2 separate regions of the Homo sapiens genome follow, and region 1 is linked to region 2. The links are contacts of gene promoters, found by promoter capture Hi-C in human tissues and cell types (Jung and others, 2019). All regions are on one chromosome and are shown on one strand. Each heading gives the region's core, a stretch centred on a gene start or on the middle of the fragment in contact. The rest is flanking DNA. Distances are from core to core; before and after follow the strand shown.

What was found. The method cuts DNA at HindIII sites, captures the fragments that hold promoters and counts their contacts. A contact is called where the count stands out against the background at its distance.
Region 1: a contact is called between a fragment that was not itself captured here and the fragment with the promoter of F10 in region 2, in 2 of the 25 tissues and cell types used here (dorsolateral prefrontal cortex and spleen).

What each region holds. Positions count from the first base shown.
Region 1 is chr13:113,239,986-113,242,685 of GRCh38, reverse strand. The region is part of intron 10 of CUL4A (cullin 4A); the gene reads right to left. Among named protein-coding and RNA genes, the nearest start is that of MIR8075, 22 kb to the left of the region's middle. The HindIII fragment of the contact is 5,276 bases long and covers 1-2,700 here.
Region 2 is chr13:113,121,430-113,124,129 of GRCh38, reverse strand. It overlaps F10 (coagulation factor X), which reads right to left and starts at 1,331. Exons shown (of 8, transcript NM_000504.4): 1 at 1,205-1,331. The coding sequence starts at 1,274. The HindIII fragment of the contact is 14,274 bases long and covers 1-2,700 here.

The DNA.
Region 1 (2,700 bases), core at 46-2,545, 120 kb before region 2:
GCCTCCTGAGTAGCTGGTGCTACAGGCTCAGGCCACCACATCTGGCCCATCTTTTTAAAGTTTTGTAGAGACGGGGTCATGTTGCCCAGGCTGGTCTCGAACTCCTGGCCTCAAGCAATCCTCCCACTGTGATTTCCCAAAGTGCTGGGTTTACAGGCATGAGCCCCTGTGCTTGGTGTGAATATACAATTAAATACACAATTAATGCATTGGTCTTACGATTCTGTTTCTGAGAGAACTTACAAACGACTGGAAAATGTCCGTTGCTTTTTAAAGAATGTTTATGTGTAAGTTCCTCCAAGACAAGTTAATTCCTATTAATTCAATATACCTCTTGGGACTTCTTGGCTAGTTTTCCTTCTCCATCACTTCTAACCATGAAAAGCTCACTTTTTTAGTTTGTACTTTTTTTTTTTTGTTTTGAGATGGACTCTCGCTTTGTCACCAGGCTGGAGTGCAGTGGCGTGATCTCGGCTCACTGCAACCTCCGCCTCCCATGTAGCTGGGACTACAGGTGCACACCACCACGCCCAGCTAGAGACGGGGTTTCACCATGTTGGCCAGGATGGTCTTGATCTCTTGACTTCATGATCTGCCTGCCTTGGCCTCCCAAAGTGGTGGGATTACAAGCGTGAGCCACTGTGCCTAGCCTAGTTTGTATTTTTAATTTAAAACTGTTATATTAAACATTCCTAAAAGTCTGTGTAGGGCACTAATAAACAGTTAACATTTGATGATATAAACTATATATGCCGAAGAGGAACTGAATACAATGATTGGATTTAAAAAATTCGTCTCAATAGAATGCACATGTGCACTCACACATCACACACACACGCGAGGTAGCTGGCTGGTGGAAAGATGCCAAGAGAAGGCTGGGCGCAGTGGCTCACGCTTGTAATCCCAGCACTTTGGGAGGCTAAGGCGGGTGGATCACAAGGTCTGGAGTTCCAAGACCAGCTTGGACAATATGGTGAAACCCCATCTCTACTAAAAATACAAAAATTGGCCAGGTGTGGTGGCGGGAGCCTGTAATCCCAGCTACTCAGGAGGCTGAGGCAGGGAACTGCTTGAACCCAGGAGGCAGAGGTTGCAGTGAGCTGAGATCACGCCACTACACTCCAGCCTGGATGACAGAGTGAGACTCCACCTCAAAAAAAAAAAAAAAAAAAAAGATGCCAACAGAAAGGGCACAGACTCTCCCAGAGAGGGGCGGTGTGTGGCTAGCAGGTGTGGGAGGGACTTACCTCTTACTCTACACCCTTTGGTGCTAACTGCATTTTGAAATAATGCACATACACTACAAGGCCCAGCTTTATTTTGATAACGGCATGTGGAGTTGAATATAAACTACTATTTTGTTACAGTATAACTACTTATTGCTGACACTCAGGGGTGATGGTCACTCACTGATTTTTATTACCCAGACTGGAAACTGCAAAGGTGAACTTTTCCTAGTTTTTAGCACACATTCCCATCCCCTGAAGACTGTCTCACTGGCAAAAAACCTAAATCTTCAGTAGCTTTATGGCCAATTTAGTGTGACTCAGTTATAAGTTCCAATTCTATCATTGTACGAGACCTTGTGGGGAGGGGTGCTGTGAGTGCTGGCTTTCCACAGCTGGACTGATACATGACTTCAGGTCTGATTATTCCATAAAGCAGCATGTAAGCTTTATCTTTTTTATTTAACGGAAATCTTTATTCAGATAATGACAGATTTGCATAATAGTAAAAATAGCAAAGCAATCCCAGTGTCTTTATTTCCACAGTTTCCTCCAATGGCAACGGTTTGCGAAACTACACAACAGTGTCTCAGCTGGGGTACTGACATGGCAGCGCACCCGTCTTTTTCACATGGCCCAGTTTACTCGTAACTCATCTGGGTGTGCACATCTAGACCTCGGCCGAAACCCCGACTGTTCCCGCAGAAGGCTACCTCCTGGGGCCTTTTATAACCACACACCCTGCCCCATCCCTACACCCTGGTAACTTTTCATCTATCCTCCATTTCTAAATTTTGTCATTTCCAAAATGTTATGCAATAACACGTTAAGTATCTGTGATTGGCTTTTCTTTTTTTCCTCTTAGTGTAATTCTCTGGAAATTTTGTTTATCTTTTCATTATGGGATTTAAGAATAGTCACCAGCAAGCAAAAACACAGACTTTTGCTAAATGTTCACCATTTAAGCTGGAAAATTCATGCTAGGCAACTGGCACATCCTGAAAACACGAGCTATCTGTGAAGGGGCCCTGATGTCTGCCTCAGTTCTCCTGTTTCTGTGAGGGGCATCTGGAGAATGGCTTCTCATTAGAGGGTCTTCAGCAGGTTTCTTGGGCTGGGCAACTCTGGCCCTCTGGGCAGGTGATTCTTTGTGGTGAGGGCTGCCTTGTGCATTCAGCAGCACCCCTGGTGCTGCCCAGCAAAGCAAGCCGCACCCTCTCTGTTCAGACAGCCACAAATGTCTCCAGACATCAACAAATGTCCCCTTGGTGGGGTGGTGCCCTGGGCCGAGAGCCCCTAGTCTTCAGGGAGGTCCTATGTCAGCACCAAAGGGCCGTTCTCCTGCACAGGACATGTGAAAACTCAGGGTACTGCCCAAGAAGCCACTCTACGACGGGTTGGACTGGGCTTGTTAGGGATGCCAAAGAAATGCTTTCGAAACATGAAAGTGAAAGTTTAAGTAATAAATCCTAAA
Region 2 (2,700 bases), core at 82-2,581:
GCCTCAGGATCCTAGAGCATTCCGGCTGCAGAATTTTCTACCAATTCGCGGAAGCATCTGTCTGTTTGCAGAGTAGCTTTGCTGTCGATGATGATGGCATGGGTCCTTCCAGGGCCTTGTTCCACCCACGCTGATCTCATCCCACCACAAGCATCACAGTGGGCTCCTGCAGGGGGCAGTGTGGCCTGAGGGGGAGGAAGAAGGCTGGGCGAGTTGGAGCCACACAGTACCCCATGAAGACGGGAGTCCCGTTCCGCGTGGGAGACAGGAAGATGTGGCTCAGGGGACAGAGGCTGGGGAGGGCAGGGGGTTGAGGGTGGGATGGAGAAGACCCCCGTGTGATGTGACTGGAGCTCCAAGTCACCAGGCGGAGGGGCCGTTTAGGTCAGTGATGCACTGAGGATCCACTCAGCCTTCCCAGGGGTCTCCCCTTTCCACCCCACGAGGGTCTCCCCCTGCTCCGTCTCTCCCTCACACATTCCCTTCCCAGGCCTGGGTCCCCTTGGTGCCCCTGCCTGTCCACTTTGTCCAGGATGCAAACAAGTCTAGGGTCCCTGTCTCTCGTGTCCCCACCAGAGGGGCCTCCTCTTCCTCCGCTGTCCCCAGGCTTGCCTGGCTTCTGTCCTGTCTGGGCCTCTGCTTTTGGACAGACCCGGGGGTCCTGGACAGCCCTGCTGCCCCCACCTGTCCAGCTGTGCATTAGGCAGCTCCTTCCCCGACGGAGCCAGTCCGAGAGTGGTGGCACTGGCTCGGCTCAGCCTCCTCCTCCCTGGGAGCTCCTCTGCTGTGCCCCTCGTCCTGTGCCTCCCTGTGGTGGCAGATGGCTAACTGTCCTGTCTCTGCCTGCCCCAACCCCTCCCTCTCTCTCTGTCTCCGTCTTTCTACCTCTGTCTCTGCCTCTTGGCCTCCCATCTCACTGTGTCTCCGTTTCTCCTTCCCTCTCCCTTTCTCTCTCTGACTCTGTCCTTGTGTTTTTGTCTCTGTGACCTCTGATCCGCCCGTCTGACTCTCAGCCCCAGGGAGCCACAGCTGGCCTTGAGGATGCCGTTGGCTGGAAAGGCCAAGCCCAGCCATCCGAGCCCAGCCTCTGGCAGCACTCAAGGCACCCACCGTCCAGGCTGCAGAGATGAGAGGGTTTCCCCAACTGCCGCCCCTCCCTGCTCCCTGGCGCTGCTTTTGGGTCTGAAGGGCGAGGGGCACTTACGACTTTCCCCGAGCAGCAGGAGGCCAGCCAGGGAGGCACTGAGCAGGACGAGGTGCAGTGGGCGCCCCATGGTGTGGCCGAGTACTGTGTCCCTGTCCTCACTGGGACAGGCTGCTGGAGCAAAGTCCACGCCCCAGCTGGGATGGCTGTTGTCTGGCTGCTTATCACTTGGCTTAGGCCTCCTGATTGGAGCCGAGACCTGCTGGCGAGGCAGGGGAGTGACCACGCTGGGAACACATCCACTCTGGCCCCACCTTCCCCAGGCAGAGCTGGGCGGCCAGAGAGGCCCCGCAGAACCTCATCCTCATCAGTCACCAGGGCCGCGGGTGTGGGGACTTTCTGTTCTAAGAATAAAAACATCATTTCGTGCTCATTTTGTAGTTTCCAGATGTTTACATTTAACTCTCAGTCCTCACATACAAATATCATTTTCCCCATCATTTTTCCAGAAGAGAAAACTAAGTTTAGAGAGCGCAGAAGCCTGAGCCGAGGCCGCTGGCAGTGAGCGTGGGATCTGAGCCCAGGACTTCTGCCCCAAGGCCCTGCTTGTTTCTGGGCGGGCCCTTCCGCTCACAGCCACTCTCTGGGTGGTATCAGGTGGTCTCATGTCACGGGGGGGGCTTGGCATCTGCACCATGGCCTCCCACAGGCCAGGCTGGCACCTGCCCCACCCACCCCCAAACCTTCTGTGCCCGCATGGCCCCAAAACGTACTTCTGTGGGGAGTGACCTTCCCGTGACCATCTGGAGGGACAGGCTGTGTCTGAAGCCCCTCCTGACCTGCCCACCACTGGCCACACTGTTCCGAGGCTGAGAGGGCTTCTGGGCTCGTTCTCCAGTGCAGAAACCTCCCATCACAAGGTCCTGAGTGTCTCTGCTCAATGGCTGTGGGAGTCACTGGGAGGTGCAGCCGGGCTTTTTGCCTCTGGGGTCTCTGGAATAAATGGTCTAAAGCTTGGCCAGTGTGGCGATCACTGCCTGCTATGCCGTAGTGGCCGGGGAGCAATGCCCCTAACACCCACAGCACTGGCCACTGCCTCATGGTGCATCTGCCTTGATGGGTCGCCCTGTCTCGCAGCCACCTGCACATGAGCCTGGTGTGCACACATTGTGCGTCATTGTGCCTGGCACACAGGAGGCACTCACTGAGCCCCACCCGACTGCACAAACTGATGATGCTGGATGCCAACGCCAGGCTGGCCTCCCACGGCGGGCACCACGCACAGCCTGGTCCTCTGAGAAGGGCCTTCCTGGTGGCACCAGATGTCTGACTCCTGCCTCTCCTGGTCTCCACCCTCTGACATCGCCTCTAGGCATGTTTGTATGGAGAGACCAATGCGGTGTGTGCACCAACAGCAGGATGCTCATGGCAGACACGCAGTCTTTGTCATCAATGCTGGGTGGCGATGCTGGCTTTGGTGGCCCAAGCCTGCCGCCTCATCCCACCCTGTCCCAGGCCCATGGCCAGTGGCCTCCCCGTATTCTATCTCGCCACTC